Regions from separate parts of the Homo sapiens genome. Here all the other regions are linked to region 3. Evidence: promoter capture Hi-C in 16 types of primary human blood cells and fetal thymus (Javierre and others, 2016). All regions are on one chromosome and are shown on one strand. The core of a region is centred on a gene start or on the middle of the fragment in contact, and the rest is flanking DNA. Distances in the headings are between cores, read along the strand shown. Region 1 has its middle 13 kb from the start of OPN1LW. Region 2 overlaps PDZD4 (PDZ domain containing 4). Region 3 holds the start of HCFC1-AS1 (HCFC1 antisense RNA 1). Region 4 holds the start of MECP2 (methyl-CpG binding protein 2).

Region 1 (3,373 bases), core at 374-2,873, 160 kb before region 3:
GTAGTGACATTTAGTGCATTTACTAATGCACGTTGTGCCACCATCACCACTATGTACTTTCAGAATATTTCATCATGCCGTACAGAAACCCCGTGTCCATTACGTGGCCACTCCCCATCCCCTAATCCCTCAGCCCCTGGCACCCGCTAATCTGCTGTCTGTGTCTATGAATTCCTCTATTCTGGATATTTCACATAAAGTGGCTCATCTGATATGTGACTTTTCATGTGTGGCTTCTTTCACTGAGCAAAATGCTTTTGAGGATCTATCTGAATTTCAGCATGTATCGGTACTTCATTCCTTTTTACCGAAACACATTGAAATTAGTGACATTTTTATACATTTACAGGATAGTTTTTGTTTGTTTGTTTGTTTGTTTGTTTGTTTTGAGACAGGATCTTGCTCTGTGACCCAGGCTGCAGTAGTGGCACGATCACAACTCACTGCAGTCTCGACCTCCTGGGCTCCAGCGATCCTCCTGCCTCAGCCTCTCGAGGTACCTGGGACTACAGCCACACACCACCATGCCCAGCTAATTTTTGTATTTTTTCTGTAGAGACAGGGTCTCGCTATATAGCCCAGGCTGGTCTCCAACTCCTAGCTTCAAGCGACTCTCCTGCCTTGGCCTCCCAAAGCACTGGGATTACAGGTGTGAACCACTGCTCCCAGGCTGCAGGGTAGATTTTTTAATTCCATTGAGTCACTTTTCGTAACTACAAGCCTCATTCTTCTCGGCATCAGCCTTTATTCGTGTGCACCATACAGTGGGTTACCCAAGCCAGGCAAAGGGGCAAACCTGGATGGTCCCAAGCAGCCAGGTACCAAACACGGTGGTCCGAAGACCCTTGTCAGTGTTGTTATTAATTTGAGGACTGATCTTGGAGAAGTCCAGTACCAAAGAGAGTTGCCAGGAGACACGGGTCAGTTGCTTAAGAGAGGAGCACAGCTGCCCTAGAACAAGAAAGGCCCATGGCCTTGACAGTGTAACCAGAGTCCCAATATTTGATAACAACACACAGGAGAAGGTAACATGGTAAGCAGTGGGAATTTTAGCTCCTCCACAAAGGAAGAGCCTTTGCTCTTTGTTCTGTTCGATTGCTTGTTCTCTTATAATTGGCTGCAGTTATGAAATAACCATGCCAAGGGGCAGCATAAAAGCACCTCTGTTAACAGATTTGCAGTGCTGTGAGCTCCTAGTAGGGTGAGAAAAAAAACCTCTGGCTCTAGATAGGATACTTGAGGTTGAAAATATATTGATTACTTAAAGACCCTTTACTCCCTTGCGCCCAGGCCTCTGCACTCCATCATACAGAAACTTTAAAAAACATTCATTGATGTAATACACCTCTATGTATGTTTATGTAAACATACACTTATATGCAGTCACAGTAAAAGATGTTCACGGCCAGGCATGGTGGCTCATGCCTATAATCCCAGCACTTTGGGAGGCTGAGGCAGACAGATCACCTGAGGTCAGAAGTTTGAGGCCAGCCTGGTCAACATGGTGAAACCCCATCTCTACTAAAAATACAGAAATTAGCCAGGCATGGTGGTGTGTGCCTGTAATCCCAGCTACTTGGGAGCCTGAGGCAGGAGAACTGCTTGAACCTGAGAGACAGAGGTTGCAGGGAGCCGAGATCACGCCGCTGCACTCCAGCCTGGGCAACAGAGTGAGACTCCATCTCACACACACACACACACACACACACACACACACAGATGTTCAGGTAGTGGTATTATTTACTGCTTTAAAAGTTTAGGTTTTATAGTAAAAATTTAAAAATCAGGCATAGGTTGGGCGTGGGGGCTCATGCCTGTAATCCCAGCACTTTGGGAGGCCAAGATGGGAGGATTGCTTGGAGGCCAGGTGTTCGAGAGTAGGCTGGGCAACACAGCAAGGCCCCATCTCTACAAAAAGTAAAAATGCAAAAATTAGCAGGGTGTAGTGGCACCCGCATGTGATCCCAGCTACTTGGGAGGCTGAGGTGGGAGGATCACTTGAGCTCAGGAGTTTGAGGCCACAGTGAGCTAGGATTGCACCAGTGCACTCCAGCCTGGGTGACAGAGTGAGACTCGGTCTCTAAAAAAAAAATAAGTAAAAATTCAGGCATAGCACAAAACAATGTTTAGACTACAGTGATTTTCTGATTTATGAGTGTTGTGTGGCACCATTGTGTTTATGCATAGACTAGAATACATATATGTCAGAAATAACTGTGTGTGTTTGCATTTTGTCTTTATGAATTTTCATTCCTTTGGAGATTATCCAGGTAAATATACTTGCTAATTACCTCAATTTATTGTCTACCCCAGGTATCAAAGTCAGTAGATGAGGGAATCTTAGAAATTATACTAGGCTGCCTGGGCGTGTTGGCTCACACCTGTAATCCCAGCACTTTGGGAGGCCAGGTGAGCGGATCACGAGGTCAGGAGTTCAAGACCAGCCTGGCCAACATGGTGAAACCCTGTCTCTACTAAAAATACAAAAATTAGCTGGGTGTGGTGGCGCACGCCTGTAATCTCACCTACTCGACAGGCTGAGGCAGGAGAATCGCTTGAACCCAGGAGGCGGAGGTTACAGTTGGCCAAGATCATGCCACTGCACTCCAGCCTGGCAACAGAGCAAGACTCCATCTCAAAAAAAAAAAAAAAGAAAAAAAAAGAAAAAAAGAAATGATAGTAGCACAATATGATCACACTTCATGAATAAAATTTGACAAATATGACACTACAATTTATTCCGTTTACAAGGTGGAGTAACTTTGTAGGGCTACACAATTACTGCTATTGTTGGAAGTTTAAAAGGTTGATTTTAAAAATACAGATATTCATTATTATAACTCAGTTTAGCTCAACTCGTGTTTACATTTACAAAACCTTAGATATTTAGTGTAAGAAATGCTGACGTACGTGATCTGCAAGGTAAGTATTATGGGTTTAGAAAGGTCAACATAATAAAATTTCTCATGAGAAAATCATAATGGATACATCTCAAATCTTGCAAAAACCAAAGCACAGTGTTCCCATTGTCACTTTTACATACTTCGTACTGTGATAAAACTGGAGAGAAGACAAAGACATACAGCTATTTCTTAAATGAAGAATAAAACAATTTAATCTATTCAAGGATTTTTCTTATAAAGAAATATTGAGGAAACCTGGAGTTTTAGATTATTTTCTTGGCTTTATTTGTTTTTTCTTGATACATTGTAATCATGCATATTTATGGTGCCAATTCATATCACGTTGCACAATGACCCAATCACGGTAGTTAGTGTACCTATCACCTCATGCAAGTATCATTTCTTGACAATGCGAACATGCAAATACCTCTCTTCTAGCTATTTTATTTTATTTTTTATTTTTTATTTTT
Region 2 (3,343 bases), core at 239-2,738, 140 kb after region 3:
TATCTTGCGACCTTACTAAAATTGTTTATTAAGTATAATTTGTTTAGTAGATTCCTCAGGATTATCTACATATTAGGATCATGTCATTGGCAAATAGAAATCGTTTTTCTTCTTCCTTTCCAATCTGGATGGCTTTGATTTCTTTTCTTTTCTTTCTTTCTTTTTTTTTTTTTTTTTGAGACACAGTCTCACTTTGTCACCCAGACTGGAGTGCAGTGGTGCAATCTCGGCTCACTGCAGCCTCCGCCTCCCGGGTTCAAGTGATTCTCCTGCCTCAGCTTCCCATGTAGCTAGGATTACAGGCACACACTACCACACCCAGCTAATTTTTGTATTTTTAGCAGAGACGAGCTTTTGCCATGTTGGCCAGGCTAGTCTTGAACTCCTGGCCTCAAGCAATCCTGCCCGCCTCGGCCTCCCAAAGTGCTGGGATTACCGGTGTAAACCACCGTTCCTGGCCCTTCGATTTCTTTTTCTTGTTAATTTGCTCTGGCTGGAGTCTCTAGTACAATGTTGAATAGAAGTGCCTGTGAATGTCTTTCCCTTGTTCCTCATCTTAAAGGTAAAGAAGCTTCCAGTCTTTCACTAGGGGGTATAAAGTTAGCTGTGGCTTTTTCATAGCTGTCCTTTATCAGGGTAAGGAAGTTCCCATTCTATTCCTAGTGTGTTTTTATCATGAGAGGCATTGGATTGTGCAGTGCTGCTTCTGTGGCTAGTGAGATGACCACATGGTTCCTTTATTCCACGGATGTGGGTTGTCACAGGCACTTTCGTGTGTCATGTCGGAACCTCAGCCCCATTCCTATATTCCAATCATGTCCTCCTAGTTTGGAAAATCTGGGACCTCCCCTGAAAATGGAGGATTACTGCGTGTTGAGTTAGGAAAAGGAAGCAGGCTGGTTGCCCAGAATGGAAGGCAGGAAACAGCATGTCCCCAGCTCCGGAGCCTTTTCTGCAGCCCATGTCCCTCCACTGCCACCAGGCCCCCTTGTCATATATCTCATCGTGGTCCACACTCTGCTGAACTTGTCTTGGCCTTGGCACCCCCTCTCTGACACCATGATGTGCTTGCTAGCATCCGAGCACGCCGGAGATGGTCAGGGGATAAACCCCTGGTACTTAGGACTGGTCTCCCGCCCATCCTACTCAGGCTTTACAGGGGGAGTGGGTCAGGACCGCCTGTCATCTCCCCTCTGTCCACATCGAGGGAGGCCAAAGGACAGCTGGCCAGCCCTTCTGGTGATCTCCCAGGCATTCTTGCCTAAAGCACCTGCATGTGAGCCCCCATGGTGCTGGCAGCCATCCTGGGTGCGTGGCATTCAGCAGGGAGACACTGCAGACAGGGCCTTGCCCCTCCCCCAGACTCCCCTTTTGTTGTTGTTGTTGTTGTTGTTTGAGACAGAGTTTCGCTCTTGTTGCCCAGGCTGGAGTGCAATGGTACGATCTGGGCTCACCAAAACCTCCGCCTCCAGGGTTCAAGCGATTCTCCTGCCTCAGCCTCCCGAGTAGCTGGGATTACAGGCATGCGCCACCATGCCTGGCTAATTTTGTATTTTTAGTAGAGATGGGGTTTCTCCATGTTGGTCAGGCTGGTCTTGAACTCCCGACCTCAGGTGATCCACCCACACCGGCCTCCCAAAGTGCTGGGATTACAGGAGTGAGCCACCACGCCTGGCCCCAGGCTCCCCTTTTTGTAAGGGGGAGACCATCGCCAACATGTAGGCAACTGCGGGGGAGAGAAAGTACTGCTTGAGTGCGGGAGCGTGGCTGGCAGCCAGTGTCCCCTCTTCAGCGACGTCTTCCTCCAAACTGCTCTCCCACCCACCAAGCCAGGTGGCTTCTCTGGCTCCCTCCTGCTTGCATGGGGGCTTCCTGTGAGCAGGGATTTGGGTCTGGCATGGGCACTCTGCCTCCCCGCCTCACCAGCACCAGATGCTGCCAGCACATCCACGCTGGCCTCCACCCTTCCAGGGGAAAGCTGGACTCTCAGTCAACTCAGTGGTTCTGCCGCAGAAGCTGACTGGGGAAGAAGCAGGCTCTGAGAAAGTCCTTGTGGAGTGGAAGAACAGAGGGCTGGACACTGAATTCTGACTGCCATCTTCTGGACCAGGTCATCCTGTTTTGTGTCATTGTCCCAAGATTGTAGAATGCCCTTTCCCCTCTCATCTCGGGGTTCCTGAGGACTGTCCAGTCTGCTGAAATGAAATTCGATAGTGCCAGAGAGCAGATTCGTGGTTGCAGGGATGGGCAGAGGGGCATGAGGACACTTTTGGGGAAGATAGAAATGGCCACTGTCCTGACGGTGGTGATGGTTCCCCAGGTTCATGTATGACATATGAACACCTGCCCTTTGCACACTGAAGATGTGCAGGTTACCACCCAGCAACAGACCTCACCAAAGCTTTAGAACAGGAACTCCATGGCCACATGCACGCATCCTGGGGAGAAAGGTGTCCTTTCCTTCCTTCTACTTCAGGGGCCCTGCCAGAGAAGGCAGTGCAGTGTGGAGATAGGAATGGAGGCAGCCACCAACTGACAGCTGTGTGGCCAGGGGCAAGTCGCTGCATGGCCCACTGGCTCAGTGACTCAGTTTCCTCAACTGTGAAATGGCAGTGAAGAGTGCTTGCGTCCGAGGGCCATTGTGACAAGGAAAACAGATGGTGTGTCCCCCGGGATCTCACTGGGTGGAGGAGGGAGTTGCTGCCCTCGGGCCATTCAGTTGGTCATTAAGAAGTGGAAATTGGCTGGGTGCGGTGGCTCACGCCTGTAATCCCAGCACTTTGGGAGGCCGAGGCGGGTGGATCATGAGGTCAGGAGTTCGAGACCAGCCTGGCCAGCATGGTGAAACCCCATCTATACTAAAAATACAAAAAATTGACCAGGCGTGGTGGCTCACGCCTGTAATCCCAGCACTTTGGGAGGCTGAGGTGGGCGGATCACCTCAGGTCAGGAGTTCGAGACCAGCCTGACCAACATAGAGAAACCCCATCTCTACTAAAAATACAAAATTAGCCGGGCATGGTGACACATGCCTGTAATCCCAGGTACGCGGGAGGCTGAGGCAGGAGAATTGCTTGAACCCGGGAGGTGGAGGTTGTGGTGAGCTGAGATCACGCCATTGCACTCCAGCTTGGGCTCGAAACTCCATCTCAAAAAAAAATATATATATATATATTAGCTGGGCATCATGCACCTGTAGTCCCAGCTACTCGGGAGGCTGAGGCAGGAGAACTGCTTGAACTCAGCAGGTGGAGGTTGCATGAGCCAAGATCAAGCCACTGCACTCCAGCCTAGGTGACAGAACGAGACCCTGTCTCAAATAAATAAATTAATTAAATAAAAA
Region 3 (3,132 bases), core at 341-2,840:
CTTGTCTCTCCCGTGTTTGAGGATTGGTTTTCGTTAGTTAAAAGAAAGCCCCTAGTCCGACTGGTGAGGGAGAGGGGCTGTCGCCAGCGGTGGTGACTTCAGACCCACACCGTTACCCAGCGGGCTGGGGCTGGGGCTGGGGCGGGCGGATGTGTCCCCTTGGCGCAGGCAGAGCTCCCCTCCCTCCCTCCCTCCCTTCTCCTGCGCCTGCTCAGCTCTCCCTCATCTCGAGTGCCCATTCTGGAGAAATGACCATTTCTAGATTACAGATTCGTTCTCTGTCTCTCGAAAAAGGGAGGGAAGGGAAGCGCTCTTAGGACGCAGAGTTTAACATCCGCCGACCCGGGTAATGCCGGAGCCTTGGGGACCCCTAGGACGGGCCGGCGGCAGGGCCGCCTCTCCCTTTCCACGTTTACTTCTGCAGCATTTCTTTCCAAGTCGCCCCTTCTCCTAATCTGGTGCCTTCTGGTTTACAAGCTGAATTCCAGTTACCCCTCAGCGGCCTGCGTAGTCGTGTGTCTCCCCGCTTCTGCGGATCCAGGGGGTTACCCCACCCGCTCTTCTGCCTCCCTGCAAAACCCAAAGCCCGTTAGTTGGGAAGGGGAGGAACCTCTCTCTTCAGGTATGGCTGATGCACCACGGCCTTCGTGGGGGCCGTTTGTTGTTGCCTCTGCCTAGTAGCCTTGCTTAGTCTCTAGGGCAGAAAGCCTGCTGCTGTCCACGACAGCTTTGTGGCATCCTTTTTCTTGGTGGCTACTTGGCCCGTTTTGTGCCCCTAGCACAAGGGTCAGTTCCCAAGTTGCCTACTGACTGCCCGTTGGCCCACAGGACCCTGGCCTTGCCCAGAAGGCAGGGTCAGGGTGAGTTCGGTCCCAGGCAAGAGCTGGAAGAGTCTGGGTGAGGGAAAAGCCCCCTGCAGGCGGCTGGGGGAGGGCCTTGGGATGCCCTAGTCCTGAGTGGCAGGCACGGCTCCCAGCACTAACCCCTTGCTCCGCGGCCGTTCTCTCCTGGGGGCTCTAGCGATCCCCTGGCCTCGGTGGTGGCCCTGCAGACAAACCCTCGCTGAGTGGGCTTTGTGTCCTGAGCGGTGAGAGGCTGCTGTTCTTTGGCTGAGCTCCAGTGCCTCGATGCTCTGGGGGTGGGAAGCTGGAGCTGCCTGGAGGGAGAAAGTTGGTTTAGGGAGTTGGGAAGGCTGGAGCTGGGCTCTTGGGTGCCGCTTCCTTCCCCACCCCCCAAGGCAGAAAGTGCTGGTTTCTCCACATCTCGGAGATTATCGCCACCTACCACGTTGACTTTGAAAGGCTGGTGGGTTGTCTGTGACCGTTTTTCGTTCCAGGTCTCTCAGCACCTGTTGCCTCCAGGGAGCAGGGCCTTTCTCAGCAGCCCCCGGGCGGGGGCGCTTGGTGGTTGGTGGTGCCCCGCGCCAGCCCAGGCAGCTGCAGTAGCAGGAATTAGCTCAGTAAGCTAAGGCTTCTCCAGTGGTGGGGCTGTTTATAGAGGCACCGTCACCATGAGCAGCACCTTCTCCACTCTGTGGACCGACTTTCTTCTCATAAGGCCTGGAGCAGGCTCCCTGGCAGGGAAATGCAATTTTAGAAAGTAGGGCAGGGGCCTAATTACAGTCGGCTCCAGAGTCCACCACCACTGCTGCCTTGGCTTCCTGGGGCCTCTGCATATTCATTAGTTTATTAAAATGAATTGACCACTTTGGCATGAATTCATTACCAGTCTGCAAAGACAGGTTGTGCATTAGAGGGGTAGCCTGCCTTCCAAAGGGCTGCTTAAAATGAAGCTCTGGGATCCTCCAGGGTAGCAGTTTGGAAACTGTCATCGGCAATTCCTCAGACGAGAGAGCAGCTGGCAGACCTGAAGCCCTCTTCCTCACCGGGGTTTCTGCCCCCTCCCGCCAGCCCGGCCTCGTCACCTTTGTCTTGTCTTCTTTTGTTGTGTTTGGGATGAGATCAGGGCATATTCTCACGCCTGTGCCCCTTGCAGTTCTGCGGGATCAGTCCTCAAAAAGCCTTGTACCTTTGGAGAGAGCTGATCTGGAAGGGGTTCCCGTTGCTAGGATAAGAAAGCTTCAGGGGGTGTGTGCTTTGAGAGCTCTTAGGGTAGCTACTGTGCTTGTCCTTAGGGAATTTTAGTTCCATGTGGCAAGCCAAAGGATTCAGAGTGCTGCCAGGTGTGGGGGGTGGGGGAGCGAGAGCTTTGGCTACGGTGGCTCTGTAATGTCCATAGGTTCTTGGAGCTGGAGGGAGCCTTGGAAAATACCTAGTGGAACTACTTCCTTGTTTCTGCAGATGAGGAAATTGGGGTCCAAGAGGGGAAGTGACAGGTCCAGGGTCGCCCTCCCAGCTGGTGGCGGAGTTGGGCGGGAGTGCAAACCTTCATAGAGGCCGTTCTGCCACCTGTCTTTGGGGCCCATCACCTTTGAAATGCCTCCATTCTCTCCTCTGTCCCTGTATCTAATTGTTCATTGCGTTGGGCAGGCATCAAATGTGTCCCCTTCCACACCAAGCCCTCCTCTCCTCTTACTAGACTCTTGCAGTCACTTCCTGATTGGCCCTGCTAGTTTCATTTGTCGGGAAATCCTGTTCACCCTTCAAGGCCCGGCTGAAACGTCACCTCTTCTGAGAAGCCCTTTCCACTCCTGTCCTCCCCTCTCCAGCAGTCGCACTGCTCTGTGCTCCCAAGGGCCCGGCTTGGTCAGAGCTCTTCTAGGGTGTTTGTCTCATCGTGGGAGGGGGGCATGCAGCCTTCCTACCCCATTGGGAGTATGAGCACAAGATCGGTGTCCTCTGTGCCTCCCAGCACGTCGTATGCCACACAGGAAATGCTCTAATGTGACAGGTAGAACAGAGAGGAAGGCAGCTCGTTGAACTTGACCGGCCACCTCACTGCATGGGCACCAGTCTCTAGGTGGTGATGGGACAGTGGCAACCAGGGATGGAGCTTGCAGAGCATGAAGTGGTTGGGGGAGCTGATGAAACACAGAGAGGCCGGGGCACAGCCTTGCTCAGGAGAGGGGAGCTGGAGTGGTCTTCATCTAGTGCAGGGTCCTTTCCCCACCTTCCCCTCCCAGCTGAGAGCCAGCATTTCCAGGATGAGGGGCCCAAGGATTGGGTTACATGA
Region 4 (3,302 bases), core at 438-2,937, 130 kb before region 3:
GGTGGACGTTGCAGTGAGCCAAGATTGCGCCACTGCACTGCAGCCTGGGTGACAGAATGAGACCCCATCCCCACCCCCCCCAAAAAAGAATGAACTCCCAGTTCTCATAGTGGCCCCAGCTGCCTTTCCAATCACATTCCCTACCACTCTCCAGCAACACTGACTTCCTCGTTAGTCCCCAACATGCCAGGCATAGTCTCTCCTCATGTCCTTTGAACTTGCCTGGAATGTTCTTTCCCCAGATATTCATATGAGGGAGTAAAATGAGGGTGAAAACCAGCAGATATCTAAATAGCACCCCCTTCACTTAGTTTATCTTTCTCAAAGCCCTTATCACTATGTGAAATGATATATTATACTTATTTGTATGCTAGTATGAATCTTCCCGGCAAGAATGTTAGTTTGCTGTCTGTTCAGTACCGTGCATCCAGAGCCTGGAAGAGTGCCTGGCACATAGCAGGTAGTCAATAAATGAATGGGGGCAAGCAGCCAAATCAGAATCAGGTTTTCTTGCTAAGCATAGAACTAACAGAAGGATCATTGAATGGATTGGATAATGACTGGCATCAGGGTAAGGTCCCCTTAACAAACACTCCTGTCCTGAACACCTGGTTAGCTAACAGTTTTCTCATACTCTTATTTTCCCAAAACACAATTGCTGGATCTCAGCTCCAAATCAACTCTTCTAGGAAAGTGAAAAATTGCTGGATCTCAGCTCCCAAATCATATCTTCCAGGCAGAGCTAACATTGCCCCTTATTCACACCTCCACCAAACCATCTGATCCAACAGTGACAGGTGTCACGAGGCCTTGGCATGCACTCTCTTCCCCCGCCAGAGTTCTGCGAAAGCCAGGGTTGCGATTTGTTGTCAGTTTATTCCCCGCCTCTATGAGAGTGTGAGCACTGGGCAGGCTCGGATGAAATAATGCATTGAGTAGGCCTCTGAAACCAAGGCCCCTCAGCTGGGGCAACGTCAGGCTCCAGGGTGGGCAACTTTGCTGCTTCTGCCGAAGATAGTGATATTGAGAAAATGTGGGTGCAATGAAACGCTTATTGCAGCGCACTCGGTGCATCTGTGGACAGAGGGTCAATCGCCCCTCAGAGCAGCGCAAACAGGCGTCCCAAGCCTAGGCCTTCACTTGCCCCAGCATCCGCAAGGGTCCATTAATCCTTAACATTCAAATTCCGCCCACTAAACCAGTCCCTCCGCGCCCAAGCCGCCTCTTTTCCCCAAACGACGGCCGAAAGCAGCCAATCAACAGCTGGAGGGGTCCGCCCCCTTTTCCCTGGCCGAAATGGACAGGAAATCTCGCCAATTGACGGCATCGCCGCTGAGACTCCCCCCTCCCCCGTCCTCCCCGTCCCAGCCCGGCCATCACAGCCAATGACGGGCGGGCTCGCAGCGGCGCCGAGGGCGGGGCGCGGGCGCGCAGGTGCAGCAGCGCGCGGGCCGGCCAAGAGGGCGGGGCGCGACGTCGGCCGTGCGGGGTCCCGGCGTCGGCGGCGCGCGCGCTCCCTCCTCTCGGAGAGAGGGCTGTGGTAAAAGCCGTCCGGAAAATGGCCGCCGCCGCCGCCGCCGCGCCGAGCGGAGGAGGAGGAGGAGGCGAGGAGGAGAGACTGTGAGTGGGACCGCCGTGGCCGCGGGCGGGGACCCTTGCCGGGGGGCGGGGGTCAGGGGCGGGACGTGGCGCGGGAGGGGCCCGCGGGGTCGGACGACACGGCTGGCGGATGGCGTCCCTCCTCTCTACCCTCCCCCTCCCGCCGCCGCCGGTGGCGACTCTCCCCTCGGCCCGTCACCCCTGCTCGCGGGTGACCGTCCTCGGCGCGGCCTCCCTGGAGCCGCCTTCGCCTGACGCCCCTCTTCCTCCCGCCCTCGACGCGCATCCCGGCCCCCGGCCCCGCGGGCGCCCCTGTCGCCGGGGCTTCGCCTGTCGGGGCTGCGCGCGCTCCTGCCCTTCTCGGGGCTTTGGGCCGCGGCGCCGTCGCGCGCCCGCGGCCCCGGCCTCTCCCTGGATCGCGCTCTCCCCCTCCCTCCCTCGCGCGCCCCCTCTCCCGTTACTCGGCCCCCCCACCGGCGCGCGTGCGCACTTCGCCTCCCGTCGGGAGAGTGCGCCACAAGGGCTCCTGAGCTCTCACCCCCATCTCTGGGCTTTGCCTCCCCCTCCTTCTCGCCCATTCCATGAATTTCTGCCCCCCGCTACCCCCCCGCGAGCGAGTAGGTCCACCGGCTCCTTTCCCCATCTAGCAGGAACAAGTAGGTGGGGATTATTATCCACAAAAGGGACTAGACATTGTGTTCTGGGTCCCACAACTCATCATAAAGAGGTGGTTATAGTTCCCATCAGGAGCCGTGGGTAGGGGACTGTGCGTCCAGCAGCACCCGAGGCTCTTCGGCGCCAGAGGCTCTAAGGTGCGAGCGTGTCCCCAGGGTGCTCAGAGGTTCTTTGGAGTGCTGTGGCCTCGGAATGTGAGCACCCTCCCATCCTACCCTCCCCTTCGCCGGCGATCTTCCAGTTACATAAGTGGAGTGGGACATAGTAGGTAACGGGCTCTCATCGCCCTGGAGCGCTCGGGATCACCGGTACCAGATGGGGCAAGTTCATCGCGACGCTGTGGCTCCTGTTAATTGTGCCTGAAAGGTTATCCTCTGTTCAGTTTGGTCATGACCGAATCACCCAAACTGAAACTCAGATGACTTTTATATGGCAGTGGCAATGTTTCTGTGGTTTTGCACTAAAGACTTAAGGTCATTATGAAGAGTGTAAAAGGATTGCTGTCGCAGGGGAGACCGTTTATGACATTGCTAAGTATGGACCCCGAGGGGGAAAAAGCTCATTCTGGAATTGCTCTGTGGCGGTTGCTTCTGTTGCGAGTGTGTTCGGGTGTGGGTTGGTCACAGCAGAAATGGGCTCCACCACAAAATTGATATTCCTGACTCATGGTCAGGCAGATGTGTGCTTCTGGTTATTTTTCCAGGAACAGGAATGGGCTCTGCCGAGCCTTTCACACGTTGTGTCTCTGCTGTGCGGGATCAGTACCCCAGACTGTGAGATAACAGGATCGAATTCAGGGGTTGGTTGGTGATCCAGGAACCATACCTACTTGGATGTGATACTGAGTGGCCTAGACGTTGTAGGACTCTCATAAGTTTTAGACATTTTGTTATACTGTAAAAATGAAGCATATACGGCCTCAGTAGTAACATTGCACTAATAGGTAATTATTACTCTAGAGAATTTTGGGTTCCATGGCTGGAATGTTCATCAGTATCTCAGCAATTTCAGTTAATAACCAGATTAAG

Evidence for each region. The method cuts DNA at HindIII sites, captures the fragments that hold promoters and counts their contacts. A CHiCAGO score of 5 or more calls a contact.
Region 1: a contact is called between a fragment that was not itself captured here and the fragment with the promoter of HCFC1-AS1 in region 3, in 1 of 17 cell types (naive CD4 T cells). The highest score is 5.1, in naive CD4 T cells.
Region 2: a contact is called between a fragment that was not itself captured here and the fragment with the promoter of HCFC1-AS1 in region 3, in 5 of 17 cell types (non-activated CD4 T cells, activated CD4 T cells, naive CD4 T cells and 2 more). The highest score is 6.1, in non-activated CD4 T cells.
Region 4: a fragment that was not itself captured here is called in contact with the fragment with the promoter of HCFC1-AS1 in region 3 in 7 of 17 cell types (M2 macrophages, M1 macrophages, activated CD4 T cells and 4 more); the score reaches 10.2 in M2 macrophages.

What each region holds. Positions count from the first base shown.
Region 1 is chrX:154,129,762-154,133,134 of GRCh38, reverse strand. No RefSeq gene overlaps it. Among named protein-coding and RNA genes, the nearest start is that of OPN1LW, 13 kb to the left of the region's middle. The HindIII fragment of the contact is 8,995 bases long and covers 1-3,373 here.
Region 2 is chrX:153,823,051-153,826,393 of GRCh38, reverse strand. All of the region lies in intron 1 of PDZD4 (PDZ domain containing 4), which reads left to right. Among named protein-coding and RNA genes, the nearest start is that of PDZD4, 5.8 kb to the left of the region's middle. The HindIII fragment of the contact is 1,830 bases long and covers 574-2,403 here.
Region 3 is chrX:153,967,223-153,970,354 of GRCh38, reverse strand. HCFC1-AS1 (HCFC1 antisense RNA 1) reads right to left here and starts at 1,590. Exons shown (of 3, transcript NR_046608.3): 1 at 1,285-1,590; 2 at 984-1,156; 3 at 264-570. All of the region lies in intron 1 of HCFC1 (host cell factor C1), which reads left to right. RefSeq lists an enhancer at 1-166 and a silencer at 953-1,131. The HindIII fragment of the contact is 6,911 bases long and covers 1-2,080 here.
Region 4 is chrX:154,095,922-154,099,223 of GRCh38, reverse strand. MECP2 (methyl-CpG binding protein 2) reads left to right here and starts at 1,507. Exons shown (of 3, transcript NM_001110792.2): 1 at 1,507-1,620. The coding sequence starts at 1,559. RefSeq lists silencers at 1,222-1,581, 1,667-1,905, 1,882-1,941, 2,002-2,081 and an enhancer at 2,402-2,491. The HindIII fragment of the contact is 4,609 bases long and covers 1-3,302 here.